Linked DNA regions of Homo sapiens: regions 1, 3 and 4 are each linked to region 2. Evidence: promoter capture Hi-C in 16 types of primary human blood cells and fetal thymus (Javierre and others, 2016). All regions are on one chromosome and are shown on one strand. The core of a region is centred on a gene start or on the middle of the fragment in contact, and the rest is flanking DNA. Distances in the headings are between cores, read along the strand shown.

What was found. The method cuts DNA at HindIII sites, captures the fragments that hold promoters and counts their contacts. A CHiCAGO score of 5 or more calls a contact.
Region 1: a fragment that was not itself captured here is called in contact with the fragment with the promoter of MN1 in region 2 in 2 of 17 cell types (M0 macrophages and M1 macrophages); the score reaches 7.5 in M0 macrophages.
Region 3: a contact is called between a fragment that was not itself captured here and the fragment with the promoter of MN1 in region 2, in 1 of 17 cell types (M0 macrophages). The highest score is 5.2, in M0 macrophages.
Region 4: a fragment that was not itself captured here is called in contact with the fragment with the promoter of MN1 in region 2 in 1 of 17 cell types (M0 macrophages); the score reaches 5.8 in M0 macrophages.

Annotation. Positions count from the first base shown.
Region 1 is chr22:26,765,098-26,771,323 of GRCh38, forward strand. The region is part of intron 2 of MIATNB (MIAT neighbor); the gene reads left to right. Among named protein-coding and RNA genes, the nearest start is that of MIATNB, 95 kb to the left of the region's middle. The HindIII fragment of the contact is 1,707 bases long and covers 1,966-3,672 here.
Region 2 is chr22:27,799,314-27,806,295 of GRCh38, forward strand. MN1 (MN1 proto-oncogene, transcriptional regulator) reads right to left here and starts at 2,443. Exons shown (of 2, transcript NM_002430.3): 1 at 1-2,443. The coding sequence starts at 1,230. RefSeq lists enhancers at 1-509, 4,852-5,416, 5,417-5,980. The HindIII fragment of the contact is 19,591 bases long and covers 1-6,982 here.
Region 3 is chr22:26,738,183-26,744,538 of GRCh38, forward strand. All of the region lies in intron 2 of MIATNB (MIAT neighbor), which reads left to right. Among named protein-coding and RNA genes, the nearest start is that of MIATNB, 69 kb to the left of the region's middle. The HindIII fragment of the contact is 7,579 bases long and covers 1-6,356 here.
Region 4 is chr22:26,781,231-26,787,791 of GRCh38, forward strand. No RefSeq gene overlaps it. Among named protein-coding and RNA genes, the nearest start is that of MIATNB, 110 kb to the left of the region's middle. RefSeq lists an enhancer at 2,194-3,393. The HindIII fragment of the contact is 1,107 bases long and covers 4,609-5,715 here.

The DNA.
Region 1 (6,226 bases), core at 1,569-4,068, 1.0 Mb before region 2:
ATGATGCCTCAGCTGAGTCTTGAAAGACAAGATGGAATTCCCCACACGGGAGAGAGGAGCGGATGGCTGGGAAAAGCTGTTAAATGGAAAGCCATTAAATGTCCCTGGCCATGAGGCTGGAAGCAGGGGGAGTAGACAGGGAGAGATTAGCAAAGCCTTGATGTCATGGGAAGGATCTTGAGCTTTATCTAGAAGGTAACAGGTAGCTACAGAAGAGTTTAGAGCAGAAGAGTGACGTAACATTTGCCTTTTTTGAGGGATCCCTCTGCCTACCATGAGGGGAAGAACTGGGAGCAGAGGCAGAGGCCAGTGAGGAGATGGCTGCAATTGTACAAGTGGGATACCTTTAATATTAATAATTATTACAATATATCATGGTGTACCAGACACTGTTCTAAGAATCTTACATGTTCTAGTTCCTTCATCCCCACGTGTTAAAGTGCATATAAAACTCTTAACTTGGGGCCTGGCATAGGGTAAGTATCCAACAAATTATCCACACAGTATTAGCAATCTACATGAACTGTTCGTCCCATTTTGCAGATGAGGATTGGGGTTCACAGTGTTTGAGTAACTTACCGTATTGAAGGCTGTGATGCACAGCCTAGACTCATCTAATGGAAGAAAGGATTTTTTTTCTCTCTCTTTCTTTCTTTTTAGAGACAGGGTCTTGTTCTGTCACCCAGACTGAAGTGCAGTAGTGCAATCATAGCTCATCGCAGCCTTGAACTCCTGGCTTCAAGTGATCCTCCTGCTTCAGCCTCCCAAGTAGGTAGGGCTGCAGTGTGAGCCACTGCGCCTGGCTGGAAGGATTTATTTATAACTGCTGAGAGAATTGCCCTCTTCAGGGCTGCCCCAGCGCAGGAAAACTGCATCACCCAAGTTCACTCCCTTCTGGGGTCAACCCATATCCAATGACTGATAGATGCAAGAGGATAAAGGCCTGACCTCCTTATCCCAACTTGAGACAGCTCCAAAGGGCCAACCAGTTTCAGAGCGCCCCATAGGATTGGCTGAGACCTTTGTTGAACCTTCACCATGGCTCAACTTCTCCCTGTTCCCAACTCTGCTTCTTTTTCCTCTTCTCCAAAGGTGTTGATCCAAGAACACTTCCTACTAAACATGCTGCCCGCTAAACTCTGCCCCAGCATCTGCTTCCCAGGAACCAGTCTGTGACACTTTCCCAAGGTAGTACAGCCAGTAATCAGCAGAGCCAGGAAACAAACCTTGACTTTTTTAGAGACAGGGTCTCACTCTGTTGCCCAGTCTGGAATAATGTGGTGGTGTGATCAAAGCTCACTGCAATCTCAAACTCCTGGGCTCAAGTGATTCTCCCACCTCAGCATCCCAAGTAACTGAGACTACAGGCATGCACCACCATGCCTGGCTAATTCTAAATTTTGTTTTTGTAGAGACAGGGTCTCACTATGTTACTCAGGCTGGTCTTGAACTCCAGGCTGTAAGTGCTCCTCCCGCTTTGACCTCCCCAAACCTCCACTCATTTGATTGCAAAATCTCCATTCTGCCTTCATGCCACTCTATGTTTACCAAGTCTGTTGACTTTCTGAACTTTGGTTCCCTTGTTTGTAAAGTGAGAGTGTATCAGTCAGCTTAGTCCAGGTTATGCTGAGGTAACAAACATCTCCAAAATTATCTATGGCTTCCAAAGATAGTGAGAGGTGAAGCTGGCTGGGCTTCTGGGTCAGGTGGGGACTTGGAGAACTTTTCTGTCTAGCTAAAGGATTGTAAATGCACCAGTCAGCACTCTGTGTCTAGCTAAAGGTTTGTAAACACACCAATCAGCGCTCTGTCAAAAGTGACCAATCAGCACTCTGTAAACGGACCAATCAGCATTCTGTAAAATGGACCAATCAGCAGGATGTGGGTGGGGCCAAATAAGGGAATAAAAGCAGGCCACCCGAGCCCGCACCGGCAACCAGCTTGGGTCCCCTCCGACGGTGTGGAAGCTTTGTTCCTTGGCTCCTCACAGAAAATTCTGCTGCTGCACACCTGGGGGTTGGCACTACCTTCATGAGCTGTAACACTCGCCACGAAGGTCTGCGGCTTCACTCCTGAAGCCACTGAGACCACGAGCCCACCTGGAGGAACCAGCAACTCCAGAAGAGCCGCCTTTATGAACTGTAACTCTTACCACGAGGGTTTGCGGCTTCATTCTTGAAGTCAGCGAGACCAAGAACCCACCGGAAGGAACGAATTCCGGACACAAGAGGGTGACCAAAACTTGTTTTGGTTTGCCCAGGACTTTCTTAGGTTTAGCACTAGAATCCTGCATTCCAGGAAATCTCTCAGTCTCAGGCACCCCAAAACAATTTACTTGGGACTGTCAGTTTTAGAACTGAAAGTCATGCATCTCAGGAACCCCCGCAGACCTTCAAAAACCAGGAAGGTTAGTCACCCTATAAAAAGCAAAGGTTTATTTTTCATTCAAGTTACATGTTCATCACTCACACTTTTATCATTACGTGATGAAAAGTGGCTGATGCTTTGCTTAAAATACTTTTTACCCATAACTCAGGTCAGTGGACATTGCTAGTCCGAAGGCAGTTGAGAAAAGAGATTCAGAGAAGCATGCACGATCTCTTGCAGATTCTACCCAGAAGTGACACAAGTCACCCCTGCTCTGATTTCACTGGCTAGAACAGATCACATGACCAAGCTGCGAGGAATGGGGCAGGATATTTGCTGGGGATGGGCGGGTACGGGGGATATTCAGGGAGGGAATCTGGGGTACTTGGACGCTGCTTGGAGGAAGCATTCTAAAACATCTTGGGTGGCAGCTAAATGCTTCTTTTCGGAGCGCCCTGCATTTTGCAATGCTCTGCCATGCTAATGATTTGAAACGGTGGCTAATCTGACAAGCCAATTGGAGTCCCCGTGATTGCATTTGACTCTCTGACTAATGACAAGAGATGAACTCTCTTTTCTTAGTGCAACTTACGGTTGGATAGACTTGGGCCATCGCCCGGTCCCAATGTTCAAAATGTTGCCTTGTAAATTGTCTAATAAAGTAATAAAGAAAGGGACTTGCTAAATGATTTGTCTTTTAACCGTTGTAATGGGATTTTTTTTGGGTAACATTGTTTTATGTTAGAATGCAAAAATTATCACACGTAATTAGAATCATTTCAATTCAAGTCTCTGCCAGGCCTCTGACATATACTGCGACTTGTGCCACGTCGAGCAAGTCAGCTCGTAAAACCTAATCAACTACAATTTAAAAATGCAGTCAGATTTGGAGTGGTGCGGCAGAGACGAGTAGGGAAGGCTGCCCAAGCTGGCTTTGCCTTGGAGAGTGAAGAAAGAAAGAGGGAAGAAGGGGAAAGAAGGCAAGAAGACAAAAGCCACCAGTGTGTCTATTCAGCTTCATTAGGGGACCGATGGGAGGCAGGTGGTTGCTTTCTGCTGGGGTGGCCTCGGACCCGACTGGCCTTGGGTCAACCTTGATGCTCTTAATTATCCCCCCTTCAGCACCTCTCAGATCTGACATTTGTGTCACCGGGTTTCATTTCCTTCAGGCCGACCAGGTCTGTGTGTCTGCTTAATATTTAATCGTAATCATGCAGACACATGTATGTATCATTTATCTCCAAAAGCTGTAGTATAAATGTTTAACCAGAAAAGCACACGGCAACTCATGTCATCTCACAGACAAGCTTTTGCAGGGTGCAAGGACAGGCAGGCTGCCTCCTTCTGGGATAAGGGTATTTATTGAGAAATATGTCCCTGATTCCCAAAATGTCCAGGTCAGGCCTTGGAGGGTGGGAGAGGGGGTTACCAAGCTGTCGCTTTGTTCCATGGGCTTGAATGAGAAGCTGCTTTCTTCGACCAGAGCTCCAAGTTGGAGAATGAAGATGACCTCCTGCTAGGTGTTGGTGGGAGCCCAGGCCCTGTAATTGTCCCATGATATCCCCGTGCACTGATGACAACCCAATTGTCCTCACTGTGGCCTAGAATTTAGTTCTCTGCAGGAGGGGCTGTCTGCCCAGGCTGGGATGTGTGGGCGGCATCGGAAGATCACGTTGGAACAAGTGACGTGTGGTGGAATGATGACACCGTAAGGAGGAAGTGATGCCATCAGGGAATGGTAGTATGGCTCATGAATATTCTGGGCACTTGTACCCACAGCCAGAGCCGGGCCCGGCTCCTGATTCATCAATATTACGAATCGGCACGGTGGTGAGCAGGCTGTCAGCAACTTTAATTTTTGCTTCAAGTCCAAGGAATTACAATGGAAGTATTTCCCAGGGACTCCCAGCGAGAACGTGGGGGCAGTGCCTTCTGCAGTCAGAGGGGGTGGAACTGGATCTTGGGAGCTCTGCGTTCAAGACCCAGGTGCCCCACACTCAAGTGCGGGGTATCCTTAGGCAAGGCCTGACCCTCCCAGGGAGAGCAAGAGCATGTGAGCACCTAGGATGTGCCGGAAACCACATTGCAGCAATTCTGCAGAGGAGAGATATTGGCCCCATTGCACAGGTGAGGAAGACCGAGGCTCAGAGCAGGGTGGGTTGTCTAGCAAAAGGGTGATGGTGCTGAGGCTGGAGCCCCGTTTGAGTTTGCAGGCATTGGTTTCCTTACCTGCCAAGTGCATGTGATGATGGCTGCCTTGGGGGTTGTTAGGAGGACAAAATGAGGGACTGAGCTTGTGGGTGCTTTGGAGGTTATCTTGAGTCCTTGGGGGAAGGGCATTCAGAATCTTGCTATCAGCATTGCTCACATCAGCTCAGCCTGCTGAGGGCTGCAGAGACTTTTTTCCATTATGTGTCATTTCATCTTCTTAATGGCAGGGTGAGGTAGGTGTGAGCATGAACATGAGGTCCATGCTATAGGAGAGGAGAGTGAAGCTTGAGAAGCAGAATGCCTTGCCCTTCCAAGGCTCCTCAGTGTAGAAGTGGCAAGGTATCATTTGAAGGTCATGGTTGAATGTGTTTAGCAAAGTAAGGAGGGTAGGTGCTAGGTACCCATTTTGCAGATTAGAAATGGGAAGTCACAGGTGGAAAGTCAAAGGACTTGCCTCTGCAGAAATTAAGATTTCTTCCATCATTCTCAGCAAACTATCGCAAGGACAAAAAACCAAACACTGCATGTTCTCACTCATAGGTGGGAATTGAACAATGAGAACACATGGACACAGGAAGGAGAACATCACACACCGGGGCCTGTTGTGGGGTGGGGGGAGGGGGAAGGGATAGCATTAGGAGATATACCTAATGCTAAATGACGAGTAAATGGGTGCAGCACACCAACATGGCACATGTATACATATGTAACAAACCTGCACGTTGTGCACATGTACCCTAAAACTTAGAGTATAATAATAAAAAAAGTACAAAAAAAAAGAAATTAAGGTTTCTTTAAAAGGGGGGAGGGAAAGATGACCCCCTTATCTCAGTCTTTCCCTCTTTATCTCTATTATTTAAACTAAAAATAAAGTGGGAATAATCCTCCCTTTTCCCCTCTTATCCTTCCTCCCTGCCTTTGATGCTTTTACGAGTCAAGTGCAGAATTAGCAACAAAGGCAGACTCATGCCCACTGAGGGTAAGGGAGAGAGTCTGGTCATAAGTGGAACATTCATTAAGCTCCTACCATATGCCAGGCTGTGTAGGGAGCAGACAGGGGTGTTGACATTTGTATCAAGGAATTCATCGTCTTGAGATTTCAGGGTGTTGTTACCCAGAGCAACCTTGAAAATGTCTCTCTTACTTGACAGAGAGGAAAATTCCAACCCAGAAGGGTTACACAATTTCCTCACAGCCTCCAAACCACTATCTGTCATACAAAAACAAAACAAAACAAAAAAAACAGTAGTGCAGTAATGAAGTGAGTAGACTCAGAAATGGGATTGGCAGGACTAAATCTGGGCTATTACCGCTTATTAGCTGTGTGACACTAGGCTAGTTGCTTTACTTCTCTGGGCATCAGCGCTTTCCAGTAGCAACTGGGGCTAATTGTTGTCAGCAACGGGAGTTTCCAGCAGCAACTGGGAGTAAGTTTTGTTAGCAATGGGAAGGTGATTCTGGAATGCCTAATTCTGATCTGCCATTTATCTCCCCATCCCTGCAGGGTTTGGGGCTGACAAAGGTTCGATGCCTGACAAATAACAATCAAATGAGGAAGAAAGTATTCTTTATTCTTCAGCTCCAGGTTCAAGTGAGGTTTCTGATTTCCCAGTGTAAATATAAATCTTGGGACCTGTGTGCTCAGGAT
Region 2 (6,982 bases), core at 1,193-3,692:
GGGATACTCGAATTGCGCGTGCTGGCTGGGCAGCATGGGGCCTCCGTCCTGCAGGCCGCCGCTGGGCGTGCCCGCCTCGCCCTGCTGGGGCCGAGGGAGCGCAGGCGGGCACGAATTTTGTCGGACTAGAAGCCCGGGTGGCGGCGGCGGCTGCTGCTGTGGCGGCTGCTGCGGGGGCTGCTGCTGAGGGGGTGGCGGGGCCTGCTGGGGAGGCTGCATTAACGGGTGCCTGGAGCCCACTGAGGGCTCCAGACCCACAGGCATCTTTCTGGCCCCACTGAACCTCTCAAAGAACACACCATGCTGCTGCTGCTGCTGCTGGGGCTGCTGCTGCTGCTGGGGCTGCTGCTGCGGTGGCTGGGCGTGCATTTTGGACAAGCCCACCATGCCCGCAGCTCTGGGCATGGCCGAGGCGCCCGGGAAAGCGCCCCCAGGAACCTGGCGACCCGCTGCATAATGAGGCAGCTGCCCTTCGGAGTCAGAGGGCGAAAACATGTCAAAATGTCCCGAGGGCGCCTCGCCCGGGTAATTGTATTCCAGCGAGTCGACGGCTCCTTGGTTCGTCACCCTCCGTGGCTCCAGACTGTGGGAATCGGAGCCGCTGGAGGACGGCAGGCCGTGGAAGGAGGCGGCTCGGTTAGGGCTCTGGTCCAGCGGCAGGCATGGGGCCGGCACGGCGTGGCTGGAGGCACCTGAACTGTGGAAGTCCGGGAGGTTCCCCGGTCGCTGCGGGCCGAAGCTCTCAGGCCCCTGGCTCTCCGCCATGTGCTCATAGCCCTCGGCGAAGGGCGGCTGGCTGCCCAGGCCTCCGGCTGCGCCGCCGTAGCCGAGCAGGCGACCCCCGTGCAGGCACGAGGCCCCGGGGTCCGGGCCACCGAAGTTGCCCCCAAAGTGGGGGTGATGCTGGTGGGGATGATGACTTCCCGGGTGGCCGTGGTGAGGCTGCTGGCCGCCAAAGAAGCCGTGCACAGGCTGCGCTTGCAGCCCCCCTGCGTGCAACTCCGAGTGGCCGCGCGCGTGGAAGCCGTAGGGCTCCATGTTCATGCCCAAGATCGGGGGTTCGCCCAGCGCGCTCATAGCAGGATCCACAGGGCCAGGGGGCCCCCCAGTGTGGAAAGCCGGGGCCTTAAAGTGGGTGTTCATGCTCAGTCCGGTCTCGTTAAAGTTCCTCTCGCCCTGGCCAGCGTTCCTGCTGTTGACCTGGGGCTCGAATTGGTCCAGCCCAAACATACTTGGCGGGGGGCAGAGGGGGATCAATAGGGCATGACAGCCGGCTCTCCGCGGCGCGCCTCCGGCCAGCTACTCGTTCCAGCCCAGGATTGGGCGCTCCGGGACGCTCAGCACCGCGGGGGCTCAGCGCGCACCTCCACCCCGCCTGATGTGAGGGACGGGGGGCGGGGTATTAGCTCCTCTCCTGAAGCTCCGATTCTGCCCGGGGAGGGCCTCTCACATCTTGCGAGGCCGCGGGGCCTCTAGGAGCCGTGTTGGGGGGCCCATGCCCCGGGCGGTTGTCACAGCCGCGGGTGGGTCTGCGGGGAGGGGACGAAGCCGCGGATGAACGGAGACAAAAAGTTAAGTGGGGGGAATGGGGAGGGAAGGGGGTTGGGAGAGCAGAGCGATCACCTTCTCAAGTCCGATTGGGTCTGCTGGGGAGCCCTCAGGACGCCGCCCGCAGCCTCCCGGAGTCCGTGGCAGAGCTGCTAAGGGCAGGGGAGGGAGACCCTTCAAAGCCGCGGCTGGCGCCGGGCACCGACAGAGCGGTCCCTCCCCCCGCCCCCCGGAGTCCCCGCGCCCCGCAGCCCGAGCCTCCACCGAGCACGATCCGCTCGCACAATCCCCGTAGGCTCCGGGCGAGCGGCTGCTGCTTCTTCAGCGGGTCGGAGGACTGGAGGCTCCGCTCGGCATCGCCGGTGCCGGCCCCCGAGCCGAGGACGCAGAGGGGCTGCGAGGCGGCAGGCGCCGGGGGCTGGAGCCGAGGGTCGGGGAAAGGCGCGGCTCCTCTGCTCGGCAGCGGGTGCGCTGCGTTCGGCGCGCAGCTTCGCGGCCACGTCCGCCGCCTGCCGCTTCTGTTCTCCGCCGTTGGGTGTCTGAGTTCGCCGGAGTCTCCGCGCACCGTTGCAGGCGCGGGAGGGCAGCGAGACGAGGGGTTGGGTCGCTCCAAGGCTCCGGTTCCCTGCCTCCGCGCTGAGGTGCTTCGCGAGTCCCTCTCGGACCTGAGGGAGGGGGGCGTACGCGGGTCGGGGGGCCACGCCGGGCGAGCAGGCTAAGGCGTTCCCGCTGCGCTCTCAGAGCCCGGAATGGGGGGAGGGGGGCGCGGGGGCAGCTCTGGGGGGTCTGCGCACCCCTCTCCCGACTAGCGGGGGGGCTCTGCGTGGGGCGTTCCGAGGGTCTCGGCTCCCCTCTCTGTGTCTGCCTCTCGCCCAGCGCCGGGAGAAGCAGCAACAAGTTTTGCATTTCAGCAATCAATTTCAGCCATTACATTTGCACCAATCAGCGCCGCCCAAGTTCCGGGCTCGGGGCGGGGCTCGCTCTTAAGGTGGTCCGGGGTCCTGGCTGCCGAAGCCCCCGCCACGAACCCGCACTACCCCAGCTCTGGGGTCCCCTGCGCCCGCCTCTCCTCGGGGTCCGGCGTCAGTGCGCTGGGGGCGCGCCCCGGCCTCCGGGCGCATCGAGCTGGAGAGGGTGCAGGCGGAGGAGAATGGCGGGAGCTTGGCTTTGTTCACCCCCTTCCCATTCACACTGTTCCCAACTCCCCACCCCCAACTGGAGCGAGACCCACCGGGTGGGCAGGGGGCGGGGAGGTGGGCGGTGAGCGGTACGGGGCGCTCAGACAATGAGGTCGCCAGGCAAAGACCCTAGACTCGCCACGGAAAGTCGCTAAGTGTCTACTGCACTTCGGCTCCGGGGTGAACACTCCGTTCTCCGCTAGCGGCGCCCAAGTTAGCCGGCCCTGGGATTTTCTTGGAGGGTAAAGCAGACGGGGAACCTCGAAGTTAGGGTTCTCCTCGAGAGACCTGGGCGCTTGCTCACTCCTCCGTCACTAGGGCGTTCACAATTGTTCCCCTTCCCCACTGCCTGGGGTTCCCGGTTCTCACCGGCCGGCGTGGGCTCCAAGGAGTCACAGTCACTCAGCCACTTTATGGGGGAGCACATCGGTTGAGCCCAGTAACCGGAGCGACTTGCGAGGCGGCTGGGAACCCCGAGAAGACACGCACGAAGAGGGCGCACCCGCCGGGCCGCACACCTTGCCCTGGGCCACCCGGTCCAAGACCCAGACCCTCTGCGGGTGCGAAGTTGGCCTCCTTAAGAGATCAATTAAACTGAAGAGGCCGAGGAATGGAATTGGGCTGTGATACTAAAATCAATAGGAGTAATTTAATATCTGCCCTGCTCTTTATGAAATATTTATCCCAATAATCTTAGTTAAAATGTTTAGATCGTCCTGATCCCCACAGAGGCTGAAATCTATCTTGCAATTAGAAGTTGGAAGTTAGAGGTGATGGAGGATAGAGGTGTTTATTCTGTGCGCCTGTGTGCGTGTGCTCGCGCCTGCGTGCGTGTGTTTGTGCATGCGTGTGTGTGTGTGTGTGTGTTCCTCCCTAAAGTGTGTGTAGGGAAGGAGGGGGGAGAAGGCCTTTAATTTTCCTTGCCATAAAATAGCACGAGGCGATTTTGCTAGCAGATTCGCATTCTTAGGAGAAGGGCGAAAAAAGAACTTTCTTTGAAGTGCCCCTGATATCGCTATTAAATCTAAATAAAATTAAGCGTGGTGTATGAAAATGCCTTTCCCCCCCCACAAAAGAAAGTGTTTATCGCCCGAGTCTGTCTAGCGTTTGCTAAATTACGCATGAAATCTGAAATGAAATAAACGTTATAATAAAACCAACCCCTGAGCCCTTTTTATTTAAAAACCTTAGATTAAGCACTCCACCGTCGCGGGCAGGAGTTAAAAAGTTACCATGTCGTACGCGCAGATTCATTGCTCCCCTGAGTTGCGGCTAGGAAGGCAGTGCTAAGTATGCCAGAACCGACATGCCGGGGGTGGGGGGAAATGGGCTCAACTTTGGGGTAGCGGCAGAATTCCTAAGAAATTGCCCCCCGCCCAAAAAAAATTTTAATTAAAAATAAACAAACAAGAAAAAACAACAACTTTAAAACTCAGCCAGAGCAAGCTCAGATCCAAGACCTTTCCCGGGGCCTTCCTGTTGTGGAAGTTTACAGACATATATATTTTTTCTTTTTTGAAATTAAAAATGAAAATTACCCCCATCAAAAATGGGGTCCATAAATAAGCATAGGGAATAAGTATTTGTACAGGGCGGTGGAGTTTTTAAAGGATTTTTCTGCAGGATCAGGTTGTTGGTCTGTGATTAAATATTGATTTTGTGTAATTAGTTTTCATGTGAACTATCCTCTTGCTGATAGCTTAGAGGTTTCAGAACTAGAAAAGAAATGGAATTGGACATGGAAATTATTACTTAGCAAAGTGACAGGGAAGTGAGAGCCAGAGAAAAGACTGAGGCTTTGCTGATTTAGGCACAAAGAAATAAAGGCTTGGGTAGGCCCTCCAGTGACACCCCCCCCCCGCCCGCCCCGGGGCCTAGGACCCTGGGGCTCTGGGGCTCCCGAGACAGAGCAGGGGGGATCTTGAACCTCCTGGACAAAAAGCGGGAGGCAATAGGAAAACCTGGTTGTGAGGAAGAGGCCCCCACATGGGCAAAGGCCTGGGCATAGTCCAAGATACTGGGTCACACACTCAGTCTGCTCTCGACTATGGGTGTCTCCTGAGGCACCTATGAGCCGCCTGTGTTTCTGTGTCTGGAGGAAATAGGGAAAAGTGGGGACCTGTCTGGAGCCTGGGGGTGGGCCAGGAGAGTGGGAAGAATGGCTCACAGGCCTGTCGTCTGGGGAGACCCGGATGGGGGCGTCTGCAGAGCTGAGGCATGACTTCACACAGGGCTGGGTGGGGGTCTCCAGCACACCTGGGCAGGTTTCCTGTGGAATAATTCCGTGTGCTCCAGGGAGGGGGGGTGTGGGAGTATTTTTCTGGGGCTGTTTCCAAGAGTTAGCTCCACAAGGTGTGTGAGTGGCTGAAAGAAGGGAGTGTTTGGACCTGGTGAAGTTTCTGTTCAGGATGTGTGTCTCGGTCACCTTTCTTTAACACTGCAAATGTTGTGCGGGTGTGTGGCACACGTCTGCATTTTGTGCCTTTGCTTGTATGCGGGTGGCGGGGCATCTGCGTGTGTTTCTGTCCATGCCTGCGTCGGCGTTCGTGCATGGATCTTTGGGGGTCTTGGTGCATGTTCTCTGTCTGTCCCCCAACCCCGCATTTCTGTGTGTGTGAGCCACTGCGTTTGTACCTGTGTGTGTGCAGCTGCCTCACCCCTTGCATGCCTGTATCTCTGCTCCAGTGTATCTGTTTTTTCTGCGAGTGTGAGGGCGTGTGCCTCACAGCCTGTGCCCATCTGTGCCCGTGTATGCGCCGGCGTGTGCGCCTCCACAGTGTGGGCACCCCTGCGTGTGCCTGTGTGTGCTTTCGCCCGCAAGGTCCCGCAGTGTTTCTTTGGAACAGACACATTGCCCCCTAGCGCTCAGATGAATTCAAAGTCCCCGCAGGCGCAGAGCCGGGAGCAGTAGGAGCCTCAGGGCCCTCCACCCGCCAGGGCTTTCTCCATCCTCCTCCCTCCCCAGGTCCCCCTCCGGGGGCACTGAGTGTGCTGGCAACGGCCAGAGGAGGCCCTCTGGGCAAGGGAAGGAGGAGACACAGCTGGATGGGGCCCCAGAGCTGGAGAGGGATGTTTTAAGCTGGTGACAAGTGGGGAACTGCCTGGGATGGCCCCCAGAACACTCACCGCTGATATGGAGAGCCTGGCACACCTCAGCTAGCCCAGGAGCCTCAGCCTGCAGCCCACCAGTGAACTCTCACTCTATAGAAACACAAAGCAACCCACACCCAATACCCGTCACCCAGGAGACACACAGCCTTCGTGCCTGCCCCGTTGGCCCCCAACACCACCAGCACAGACACATGTACACACTTACCTCCATAGTGTGTGGCTGTGTCAGCAAACACATGCACTCACATGCACACACAGAGCAATATCAGCATACACGTACTCACACACACACACACACCCCTCCATAGTGTGTGGATGTCAGCACACACACACATATACACCTCCATAGCGTGTGGCTATGTTAGCACATACACACCCCGCCATAGTATGTGGATGTCAGCATCCATGTACTTATACACACACTCACACATACATCTCCATAGTGTGTAGCTGTCAACACACTCACACACACGTACACCTCCATAGTGTGTGGATGTCAGCACACACACACACACACACACATACACCTCCATAGTGTGTGGCTATGTCAGCACACACACACACACACACATATACACCTCCATAGCGTGTGGCTATGTCAGCACACACACACACACACACCCCTCCATAGTGTGTGGATGTCAGCATCCATGTACTCACACACACACCCCTCCATAGTGTGGGGATGTCAGCACACACACACACACACACACACACACACCCCTCCCCATAGTGGATGAGTCTGCCCACTGGCTTCAGGACATGGAAGGCTCCTTCCGTGTCAGGCTGGTGCTTTGTGCATTATACCCATGGTCATCCTCACGGCAACGCCATGAAGTGGGGACTCAGAACCCATTCTACAGATGAGGAGATCGAGAAAGTCAAGGGACTTTCCCAAAGTCAAACAATGGCAGAGCTGAGATTCTAATCTCCCTGACACTGACGCCTGTCTCTTAACCACGGCCTGCTCTACCTGAATGTGATCGTTCAGGTAAAACACTTAGCACAGTGCAGGGGACATGGTAAGTGCCAACAAGTGTTAGCAACCTTTATTACCACTGTGATTATTACCAAATATTATCAAAATTATGATTCATATTATTCTCAGTGTCTCCCTCACCCACACAAACATGAGAAACTAGTAC
Region 3 (6,356 bases), core at 1,989-4,488, 1.1 Mb before region 2:
ATAGGTGCAGAACCTCTAGGGGAGGGCCCAGCCATCGCGCTTTGAAAAATCTCCTCAGGTAATTTTAATGTGCAGCCAAAAAGGCTTGAAACTTCATTTTTAATCTCTTGGGTGAAGGAAAATGTGGTTTGGCCATTGGAGCATTGCCTTACATGGATACTTAATAAATTGCAACTTCCCTGAAATCTTGGATCTTCTTCTCCTCCTTCTTCTCCTTCCCCTTCCCCTTCTCCCTCTCCCTCTTCCCCTCTTCCTCCTCCTCCTCCTTCTTCTTCTCCTCCTTCCCCTTCCCCTCCTCCTTGTTCTCCTCCTTCTCCTTCCCCCTCTCCCTCTCCCTCCCACTCCCCACCTCCCCTCCCCTCCCCCTCCCTCCTCCTCCTCTTCTTCTTCTTCCTCTTCCTCTTCTTCTTCTGTTCCTTCTTGCTTCTTTCTTCTTCTTGAGGCAGGGTCTCGCTCTGTTGCCCAGTCTGGTCTCAAACCATCCTCCTGCCTCTCTTCATTTTGGTATTCCATTAGCTAACGCAGGTAACAATCTCATCACCAGCCTCCTGTGTCTCATTGATATGTGCAGCGTCTCCTGTTAACTTCGAAACTCCCCATGGTCGCCATATTCATGGGTGGCTTGTAGGCATCTCTGCTTAATGTCTTGCTTTAAATTGAGTTTTAACCCACTTCTTATTCTTCCTTAGTCCATTTCTAAACTCTAATCTTATAGAAGTGTGGGTTTGATATTTTACTCATATTTTTCTCTAATATGCAAAAACATAAATATATAATAAAAATTGAAAATAGAGTCATGTCTCTATTAATGCAAAATCACTTGGCCGACTACGAGTTATGCTTATACTAAACTTTTGGAAGCACTATTTTACAGTTCTCATTTTTTTCAGAAATTAAATAATAAATGTGAAGTTTAAAAAATTGTACAGCTCATTCATGCATGAGATATTGTTATTCCTTCATTACATACTTCTGACAAACTTTGAAGTATTAAAAGTAGCAGTATGTTTCCAGGTAATCTCTTGATAGAGCCCCTGAAGGGTCTATTTTTGTGTGACTTTTTTTGAGATGGTTCAGGATCAGTTTTACCCCCTAAAACTCCATTTATGGGAAACCAGATTTCTTATGAAAAATCTTAAAAATATTAATATCCTTAGATCCATTCAATGCATTTAAATAAATGTATAAGAAGAAAAAGAAACAATTCAGAAGAAAGATAATACTTTACATACAAAATGTCCATGATAGTGTCATATACAAATTTGAGAAACATTAAACTACCTAAACGTCCAATAACATGAGAATGGCTAGTTTAAACACATATTTTCAGTTTAATAAAAGCTGTATTTTATAAGGTCAGAAACCCTAGAAGATTCTAATCCTTCAAGGATTTTGATTTTTACATCTCAACCACTTAGAACAGGGCTTGGCACAAATTGATTCCTCAAAAATACTGGTAGAGGTAAAATAATTCATCACAATGATAGTTACCAAGTTTATAATAACATAGAAAACCACTTTATTTGAAAAAAAAGCCAGAGTAAAATATAAAACCTAAAACATTGTCATCTCTATTAAAATGCTCACTAGCTTTGTATGTGCAAAAATGAGGTGGATTAGTGAAACGTACAGTGTATCCAGGCTACACAAGATTCTGTAGCCACTAATATGAAGTTCACAAGTAACATTCATGGCACAAGAAGTACTATAGCTAATTCCAATTTGTCTGTGTATGTATTACATATGTAATTACAGCTATACATTATGATTTATTAATAATTATAATTATATGTTGTTTATATATTTTATAATACAATATTTAAAATAATATAAATATGTTTATATTTCTATTAGTTATTATAAATTATTTCTATATATTTTATAATACAAATATTTAAAATATAAATATTTTTATATATTATGCACATTTAATGTTCAATTATATACTTACATATTTTATATATGTATATGTATAATATATGTGTATGAGTATATATATAAGACACACACACACAAGACTGGAACTACCCCAAAATATTAGCAGTTGTAAGTAGTGAGACTAGAATAGGTTTTTCTCTTCCCTCCATATTTCACCTTTTTCTATTTTCCAATTTCTTTCACATGATAAGCATGTATTACTTTTATCCAGACAAAAGAAGAAGCATGAGGTGTGTTTGAAACACGGGCAGTGGGGGAGCCAGGGAGAGGCGGTGGCCTGGAGGGACGCCGAAGGAGGAAGGGCTGAGATCACATCTCATCAGCTGGTGCTGGATTGATTGTGCCCAAGTCCTCTGGCCTTTCTCCACAGGAAGTCGTGGCAGGGCTGGTGGGGAAGGACGTGCATTCTCTGGACCAGGCAATGTTTCTTTGCGGGGACAGCTTCTGCTGGAACAGCAGCCCAGGGGCCCCGCTGAACTCTCCTGGAGGAATGCCTCCTTTCCCTAATTTGCTGGGTCCCTCCAGTCGCTAAGAATGATCAGCAGTAATTAAAACTAAGCTAATAACCTCCTCACTCTTGACGTTTCTGTGGGGTTTTTGTTCACCATTATCTACATATAGATTAAAAATTGTAATTGGACTGAAGATCGGGTTAGAAAAATCAACCACCCTCCAACTTGTCGTTTGCCAGGGACTGACACTTTGAAATTTTATTTAATCTGAGAAAATGGAGTTGAACTCTGGCACCCTGGGAGGGGGGAAAAAAAACCCCAGCTTTTATCTTAAGGACCAGTGCTAGCTAAGAAAATGTTTATGCTCCTGGTGGGCAAGACTGGGGTCTAGATATACACTGGTGCCAGTGGGGTGCTGGGAGCCGCTGTAGGGTACAGCAGTCCTGAGGTATGGAGCGGGGGCATCCACAGAGACAGCCACAGAAGGGGAAAAGATGGAACACCATATAAAGAAGGTTTAGGGAGAGCACGGCCACCTCCCGGAGAGGATGCTGTGTCATTTCATAAAGACTTGGGCTGTGTAAGCCCACTGAGTCCCATGTGCTGGCAGAGTGATGTTATTGGTTTATAATTCTGTGGTTTCAGGCCTCTGCAATGTTGTGGCTAAACAGCTCCATCTTATATTTTTCTGGTTTCCATAGGCCTTATATTTATTTTATTTTTTTCTTTTTGAGACTAGGGTCTTGCTATGTTGCCCAGGCTGGGCTTGAATTTTTGGACTCAAGCACTCTTTCTTCTTTAGCCTCCCAAGTAGCTGGGGCTACAGGCTCTTGCCACCATACCCAGCTTTGGTTCCCATAGTTCTCTGCAATACTGAAGCACTTGCCTCCACTTTCCTGGGTCTATCAGACAGTGTTTCTCTATCTCTAGGAGTCTGTGCTCCTGGGAGTCTATGGTGTGAGGAGTCTAAAAGTCAGTGATGATTATATTGACTTTAAAAGGTGGAGAACTGTCAGACTTGCCCAGCTGCTTCTACTATGGCGTCATTAATTTGTCTAAATCGAAACCCTTAAACTGATATTAATTCTTAGCCCGAGTCCCCAAGGTGATGGGCCAGATGAAGAAGATTTCTTTCCAATACACAATGTGGCCATGTCATGCCCCTGCTTAATGTACTTCACTGGGGTCTCATGGCCTCATTGGATTGAGCCCAGCCTCCTGATGATGGCTTCAAAGCTGTTCCAGGTTTGCCTTGTGGATCTCCCTCTTTCCTGACTTAGCCTCTGAATCTTCGCCGCTCACTCTCCCCCAACAAATGCTCACTCTCCCTTCCTTCCTCTCTTCTCCTTCTCTCTCCCCCCGCTCCCGACTACACGCAGTAGTTCCCTTACTGCGTGTAGTCGGGAACAGTTCTACTTACTGTTCCCTCTGCCTAGAATTACCCACTCTCCACTCCATTCCCCCTCCTCATGGCAATTTGCCTGCTTTCATCCACCTAATTTCTATTAATCTATCAGTTTTCATGTTGGATTCACCTTCTCTGCAGAGTATTTGTTGTCTTCCCAAGTCTTGTTTTCTGCTCCCTCAGCCCCCCATGGTGGCTCTGTGACAACTCTGGTATGACTCTGCCCACTTCCCCCACCAGCATCTCCTTGAAGGCAAGAATGCTTTCTTGTTCACTATTATATCTCCCAGCCCATGATGCAATATTGAATGAATGAAAGAATGAGTGAATCTGTGTGCCAAAGGCAGAAAACTCACAACTTTTTACTGTTGGAATGATACGTACTCATTTATTTACTCACCTCAGAAGGATTTGTTGACTGTCTACTTTGTGCCATGTGCCGTGCCGAGCCCTGGTGGGCAAGAGAAATAAAAACAAGTCGGTGCTGTTTCTGTGGTGTATGGGGAAAACAGACCAGAAGATTGATTGGGATTAGATTTGGGGGAAGAACATTCTAGGCGAGAAGAAACATTTGTGAAAAGACCTTGAGGGGCCAGGGGCAGTGGCTCACGCCTATAATCCCAGCACTTTGGGGGGCCGAGGCAGGGGCGGATCATTTGAGGTCAGGAGTTTGAGACCAGACTGGCCAACATGGTGAAACCCTGTCTTTATTAAAATTACAAACATTAACCAGGCGTTGCCGCACTCACTTGTAATCCCAGCTACTCGGGAGGCTGAGGCATGAGAATCGCTTGAACCCGGGAGATGGAGGTTGCACTGAGCCGAGACTCCAGCCTGGGCGACAGAGTGAGACCTCGTCTCAAAAAAAAAAAAAAAGAAAGAAAGAAAGAAAAGGAAAGGAAAGAAAGAAAGAAAGAAAAGACCTTGAAGAAGGAGAGGGAGAGACACAGTCTTGAAACAGAAAGGCGCCGTGGGACTGGGGCATTGAAGGATAGGAAGAGGATCCAAAATGAGCTCAGAGTTCCGCGCAGCACCCAGATCAGGAAGACCTTACAGGGTTTCCAGCATGGAGCGACAGGATTAACCACGCACTGTGAAAAGATTGTTAAATGACTAAGTCCGTGTGTAAGCTACAGGCAACCCGTGTCTCTTTATTCTGAGACTAATCATTCTTATCCTTCCTGCTTGTCACTTTAATCTTTCCAACACACATTCACCTCCTGACGTGGACTGTTGGCTTTCATCTGCCTAGAGAGCATTCCCATTGCCATTCTCCTAGAAATAGACCGGGCTCACCTTGGCTGCAGAAAGTGGTTAGTTACGTGGTCCAGGGCTGACCAATCACAGCATCCAATACCTCTGATGACAGTGATTGGTCCGTGAGGCAAGCACATGACCCAAGCAGAGCCAATGAGAGCCTTATCCGTGAGATGGGTATTTGAACCTGGCAGCACAAACTCTTTTTCCATTGAGGTTTGTAGGGAGGGTACCAGACACATTAGAGAAGGTGTGTCTGGAGTAGGAGACAGTTAAGGCCACTGTGATGAGTTGAGGAAAGAACAGATAAAGGGAGAAACATGAAAACTTTTCCTTTGAATGTTTGAACTATTCGGTATCCAAACTAATGTTGAAAACCAATTAATCTCTCCTTTCCCCATTAAGCGTGTTTACCTTGGGTGTCTGTCATTCCATCCAAGCAAGTCCCAACTCACTCGTCCCGTACCTGATTCCCAGACCTCTTCAGACGCAGTCAGAGAAAGCATCTTGTCTTCATTTTATAGAGGAGGAAACTGAGGCAAAAGGAAACTACCCGAGTTTATGCATAAAGTTCGTAGTAGAACTGGAATCAATCGACCCATCACCCCTTCTATCAATCAGTCACATCACAGTAATGAATTTACTGCTACCGAACTGTGCACTTAAATATGGTTAAAATAATACATTTTATGTTTGTTATATTCTACCACAATAAATAAATATTTAGTCTCTAGGCTTCTCAGATCCTTTCCATGGAATTGAATGAGTGGACACAACAGAGTAGTGTTTTGTTTTGTTTTTTTTGAGATGGAGTCTCGCTCTGTTGCCCAGGCTGGAGTGCAGTGGTGTGATCTTGGCTCCCTGTAACCTCTGCCTCCAGGGTTCAAGTGCTTCTCCTGCCTCAGCCTCCCGAGTAGCTGGGATTACAGGTGTGCACAACCACGCCCAGCTAATTTTGGTATTTTTAGTAGAGACGGGGTTTCTCCATGTTGGCCAGGCTGGTCTCAAACCTCTGACCTCAGGTGATCCACCTGTCTTGGCCTCCCAAAGTATTGGGATTACAGGCGTGAGCCACCACGTCCGGCCCAGAGTTGTGTTTCAAGCTACTGTTCTGAGGATGACGAATCTGAGAATTTTCTAGACAAGCCTCAATTTCAGTTACTCTGTCTTAGAGTCCCCCTCAAACCACCCTAATGGCTCACTAATGTTAACTGAGAAATACTTTCTAAAAGTTTTTCCATTTCTAGAAATAATAAAAAAATCCATTATAGCCACAGTTCTTGATTTTTCATGTGAAAGGCACT
Region 4 (6,561 bases), core at 3,912-6,411, 1.0 Mb before region 2:
TCATCGAGGCCCAGAGAGGTTAAGCAACTTGCCCATGGTCACACAGCATACAAGTGGAGCACCCTGAGCCCACCTGTTTGACCACTACAAGGCAGAGGGAGGGAGAGGAAGGCACCACCAGTGAGAGGCACAAGGACATTGTCCATTGTCTCTTGTACCCTATGTGAGTGACAGCTGTCAAAAAACCAGGTGTGGGGCCCTGGCTGTCTCTGTAACCGCATTGCAGTGGAGGCTGGAGCCCAGCAAACTCTTTACCAGCCCCAGGCTAGGGCTAGGAGGATCACCCTCGCACCTCACTCTTTGGTGCAGCCTGCAGGAAAGGAAGCCCTCTGTGAAGTGTATCACCCCAGCCTGCCGCGTTGCCAGAGGTGAGGGGAAAAGGGCGCCTGCCGATCGCCTTCTCCCTCTTGCTATCTCTTTTTCCTGAAGTCATAGGAGCCAGGCAGGAGGCTGGGGGTCTGGCAGGCTGGGTGATAGCTAGTTATCGACAGGTTGATGGCTGCCCCAGAAGACTGCCCGAGGACATCAAGGCGGAAGCCACTTCTGAGGCCCGCTGCTCCCAGAGAGCCGGCTGCCGGCATCTCTGCCCAGGGCTTGGCGCTTCCCCTCACCATCTCATTAATCCTGATTCACAGAAAAAGGCAGCAGGCAGGGGCCCTCTTAACAGGCCGAGCGGGCGACTGATTTGCCTTCACTGAAGACAATAGTGCCCAGGAGACCCGGCATTGCTGAATTATTCAAATCAGCCGTGGCAGGGAAATCTGAGGACACAGAGTGGCTGACATCCCCCGGCCCTTGCAAGCTGCCCTCCTTCCCTGCCCTGGGGTGCTGGTACCTGGCAGCCTGGGGTGGCCAGCACAGATCCCCTTGCCAGAGATGAGGGCTGCTCCCGACCTTCCCTCCTCCGTGGATGGAAGTTGAAATTGGTGTTGATCATCTCTAAGCACCTTGGAGCTCTAGTAATGGATCCAAAATGACATTTCCCACCTGCTGATCCCTGGAGGGACATTCTGACAAGGACTTCTGGATGAACAAGTGATGGGGCATGGGAAGATGAAGGCAGCAGGAGATGGCTGTTCTGCCAAGGTGTGTGTGTGTGTGCGTGTGTGTGTGCATGATTCAAAAAAAGCAGAGGATATCGGTTGAACCCTGGCTTGGCCAACCTTAGTTTTCTGCTCCTAGAAAAGAAACACAATGAATAGGCAGGTATCCCTGGCAAATGTGGAGATTCAGGAGCAAAACCACCCAGAGTCGGTGCTGACGCTGGGTGAAGACAGAGCAAACAGAAGTTTGAGAGGTCACGTGCAACAGACGTGAGCCCAGCATGGTGGTCTCCCAGTGGGGAGGGAGTCTTGGAGAGTATGAAGGGTAAACTGAGACCCAGAGAGGGGCAGGGACTTGCCCAAAGTTGTTAAGCAGTTTGTGGCCAAAATGGAATGAAAAGCCATGGTGTTCAGCTTGCAGTTGGAGGCTCTCTTTGTTAATAATACCTATCCCTGCCCAAGCACAGACACCTGAAGGCTTTTTAATATATTTCATTGCTAACTGTATGATAATCTCATGAGGCTGATACAACTAATATTCCCATTCTACTAATGAGGAAATTGAGGCTTGCAGAGATTCAGCCACTGGACAGGGTAGAAAGTGACAATCTGGGATTGGAAAGGTGGTCTGTCTTATGCTGAACCCTTAATTGCTGTGACTCAGTGGGAGGTCAGAGGCACCAGGACTCCAGATCGCTCCAAAACATCCCTCCTGGCCAAGGCTATAGTGTCAGCATGACCTCAGTTTGTGATGGCTTCCTGGGGGTAAGCATTGCCACTTACTTGTGTCCTCCATGGGAAGGAGCACACAGAGTTTTAGCCCTTCGCAGAAAGACTGACTTCAAAGCACCCTCAGCCATCCCAGGCATCTGAAAGGAGACCCCTGAGGAGGGGACCTCGAATGTTGGAAGGAAATTTATGAATGAAGAGGTTCGGAATCTCTGGGCACAAGATCCACCTCTTTGGGGGAAGCCAGTGGCGTCTTCTGTGTAAAGCTGCCATTGGCAGGACAACTTTCTCTAGGAGAGGCAGAAGCTGGGGGTGGTGGTGGGGTTAAACCAACCTTGCACATTGGTGGGAGGGGGCATGGGGTCAGTGTGTGAATAACAGCCTCTGCTTTTCTGCATCAGCCAAACAACAATAGAGTGGGAATGGCAACCTGTATTGAGGGTTCACCATGTGCTAAGCCCTTTCTTTATGTGTAGAAGCTCATTTAGTCCTCAAGACCATTTTATGGGGTCAGTATCTATGAGGTCAGCATCGTTATGTCCTTTTTGCAAAGGAAGAAAATGAGACGCAGAAAAGAAGACATTTAAGCCATTTACCCAGGACGCTGCTGCTGGGGTGAGTGTAAAGGAGCTGGGATTTGAAATCCAGGCTTCATAAACCACGTGGCCTCTAGGATATTGTGGCTAGGATTCCCTTCTCTGTTCAACTTGAAGTCCCTCTCGGCAGAGTGGTGTCCTTTTTCTCTGCCCATAGTGGCCCATTCCCGGGGTTGTGATCCATGCACGGGCATCCCCAGAAGGAGGCTTAGAAGCTCCTTGAAGCAGCTTAAATGCACCTTTGCCGTTGTGCCTCTACATGCCCTCTTCCTTTTCTGAGAACAACCAACTTCCTCAGGCCTTCGAATCATCTCTCATTTGGAATAATCACTGTCTGAATGGACGAGGTCTCCAGCATTTGTGTGGTGCGGCGCGGGCCTCCCAGGATCCTCCCTGCAGAAAAACGAAACGAAGAGAGATTTATCTCCTGGGTCAGATAAAGGTGACTAAATGCAAACTGGCCGATTCCTTTCGGCAAACAGTTCCCTGGGGAGGGCTCCTACAAGGAGGAGAAGAGCCAATCGATCCCGGAAATGCTTCGAGGTGACTTACAGGGAAGACTTAAAGGAAAAAGCCCTCGTGTCTTTACAGCCTCCGGCGACTCTTTCAGCCTTGTAAAACTGCCCGTACCAGCCCATAGAGCGAGGAAGGAGGGGGTCGGGGGAGCTTCTTCCTTACCATTGCTGCAAAGGTGGAACTCTGCAAAATTTGACCTCTGAGATCTCTAGCTGAGTCCTTCATTCATCTGTCAAGCATCTATTGAGTGCCTACTGTGTGCCTGCTGTGCACTTCGTATGCTCTATCCTGCTGAGTCCTCCAGATGACACCATCATTACCCCCATTTTCTAGCAGAGAAACTGAGGGTATCTGAAGGGAGGCAAACGTTTCTGGAGTCCTAAAGCAAGCAAGAGGGTAGGTCCTGAGATACGGATTTGCATTCACCAGCCTCCCTGGTTTGGTTTCCTTCCTGCATCACTCCCTCTGTCATCAGATCTGGTTCTCACCCAGCTTCATCTCCAAGTCTGGCTCAGGCTTGTTCTTCTCTATCTCTCTTCCTTTCTCCTTTCTGCTCTTAGACTCATAAGAAACCTTCCTTATAATCTGAGGAAACAGCCTGTGCATCTTGGAGACTGAGTTTCTTTTGGGATCCCCAGGTTCACACCAGCCTTTTCTCCCATAGTCATCCCGCCCTCATTTCATTAAGGTACCAGTAGCACCAGCTGGGAAGGGTAACTTGGCTTGCGGTCTGCAAACTTATTCTGGCCCTGCAAAAGGCCAAATAGTAAATACTTTAAGTTTTGTGGTGCATTGCGCTATTGGGGTGCCAAGACAATATGTAAATGAATGGGCATAGCTGTGTTCCAATAAAACTTTATTTACAAACACAGGTGGTTGGCGAGATTTGGCCCATAGGTTGTCATTTGTTGATCCTTGGGATAGAGGATAAAAGATCTGGTTTTGGGGTTTGCAGACCTGAGGTCTCCCCGCAGCCCACTTTTTTTTTTTTTTTACTTCCTTGCTGTGTTACCTTGGGCAAGTTGGTGCAGCTCTCTGAGCCCCGTTTCTTTTCTGTGGAATGAGATAATTATAGCACCTGCCGCCTGGGCTTTTGCTAAGTTTAAATGAAACCATGCAGTGGATTGCACATAGTCAGTGAGCAAACTGGTAGCTGTTATTTTATGACGAATGACTTTAAACCTTCTGAGGAAAGCAACCCCCCTTCCCTCATTTGGGGGTAAGGGAAGCTGATGTGCCAGTGTTCTGATATTTTGTGGTTCATTATGCTGTTAAGATTTCCATTCTTTTCAAGTTAATGCACTTGCATTTTAATGACTTAGGATGCAGAATCTGCCTCCTTTGGGATGGAACCAGCTGGCTGGCCTTTTGTGAGGGTGATAGTTGGTAAAACTCTGGACACCCCCATGATCCCTTTGAGTCTAACCTCTGGTTCCCTTTCCTGGCTCCAGAAGGACTGACTCAGTGGGTCTAGCATGACCACCAGTGATCCTCTGGTTGAGAGCTGATCACAAGTGGCCAATTAATCTATTACTTGCAGATACATTTTCCATTAGCAGTGGCGGAATCAATTAGTCAGCGTAATGAACTTGAGTCTGGGCAAACAGGAAGGAGAGGTTAACCCCTTGGTTTCCAAAGGAGGCTGGGATGGCAAGGGAGCGTGGAGAAGATCTGGAGAGAAATCGAGAGGCTGGATAGGGACAGAGGTTTGGGAACCACAGTCAAGCTTCCAGGTAGTAAGATGAGGTAGGTTGGACCCAAAGAGCTCTAGCTTAGAGCCAGGAAAAAATGGCTTCTCTAGTCATGTGGACATGACAGAGTCATTTTGAGCTCAGTTTCCTCCTCTGCAAATGGGGATCATAATTGTACACACCTCATAGGATTGTTGTGAGGAACAAATAAGACAAGTTGTATGAAATACATAGCCCCATGTTGGGAGCGGAAATTCTCAGTGAATGCTAATCTTTCTGCTACCCCTTTTTTTCTGCCTCACCACAAGCCACGAAGAGGTGAAAAAGAGACTTCTTGACTTAGAGCTAAAAATAGCAGAAACTTCTTACTAAAATTACTCTAGCTCAGATCCACATTCAAATGTGTTACAGAGGTCAGGACTCCAACAGGTGCCTTTACTGCAGGCCTTGTCAGGGACTTAAACTTCTGACATGTATCGTGACGCTCCACAAAGGATTGGAGCAAATTTCCCAGACGTATTAGAATGAAACAACATTCTTTTCCCATCTCAGAGCATTGCACAGGACTGTGAGTTTTATTGTTAAAATGGTAGGAAACGATGCATTCCCCAAATGCATCGTTTGGGGACCTCTGGTCCCCAAAGGTGGACCAGATAGAGTCCACCTTCTCCCAAAGCCCTCCCTGTCTATGCAAGCAACTTTCTCACTCTTATCAGTGTTGTTATATCACGTTGGTGCAAAAGAAATTGCAGTTCTTGCCATTACTTTCCATGGCAAAAACCGCAATTACTTTTGCACCAACATAATAGACTTGAATTAGGGTCTAGTTACCTGGTGCAGTAAGACCAGATATCCACACGGAGGTCTTGCAGTGGTGGAAAGAAAGGTGTTTATTTACCAGGTGCCAAGCAAGGAGGACCAGACGGCTAACGCTTATATCCTGACCTCCCGATGGCTTGCAGGTAAGTGTTTTTAAACGCAGGGGTAAATGTCGGGAGAAGCTATAGGCAAGATTGTAAATCCATACATGGAGGTTACACCTTGGTCTTGGCCAAAAAGGGCAGGATACCTTGAAGCAGAGGCTTACAGGTCATAGGTAGATTCAAAGACTATCTGATTTGTAACTGGTTAAGGAAGAGAAGCTTTGTTTAAAATTTGGGGTCAGCAGAGAAGAACATTAACTGGCTTTGGGGTTTGACTCTCTCCAGACTCCTCAGGAAGAAATTTAGAACAAAAAATGGGGGTCAGAGTTCAGCCATCAGCTCCCCCTTATCTGAGGTTTAGGTGACAGCAGAGCTGTTCAGTGGGGGTCATTGGTGGGGGTTCAGGGTTCTGGAAAACAACTCAGGGGCATATGTTAAGATGTTACTTTTAGTTTCTATAGGGGAATCAAACATCTGACTAACTTCCTTGGTTCCTGTCTTAGCCTTGTTACTATTACCCTCTTGCTTATCAAGCTGCTTTTCTTTTCTTTTTTTAAGACAGGATCTCACTCTGTCATCCAGGCTGGAGTGCAGTGGTACTGTCTCAGCTCACTGCAACTTCCACTTCCTGGGTTCAAGCAATTCTCCCACCTCAGCCTCCCGAGTAGCTGGGATTACAGGTGCCCGCCACCACGCCCAGCTAGCTTTTGTATTTTTTATAGAGATGGGGTTTCACCATGTTGGCCAGGCTGCTCTTGAACTCCTGGCCTCAACTGATCCACCCGCCTCGGCCTCCCAAAGTGCTGGGATTACAGGCATGAGCCACCACATCCAGCCTCAAATTACTTATTTACCTCTTAGGGCTAGCTAGGTGCCTGGAATTTCCCTTGAAGGAACTCGGAATTTTCCTCTATTTCCATTCTTGGTGGCAGGGGCATGCAGACCGCCAAAAGGGGGTCCTGCTCCGTCTCAGTGTGTTCCTGTCACAGACTGAAGGCCACACTGAGAAACTGAGTGTAGTGAGCCAGACGTGGTGAGAAACGAAATCACAGAGGACATGGGG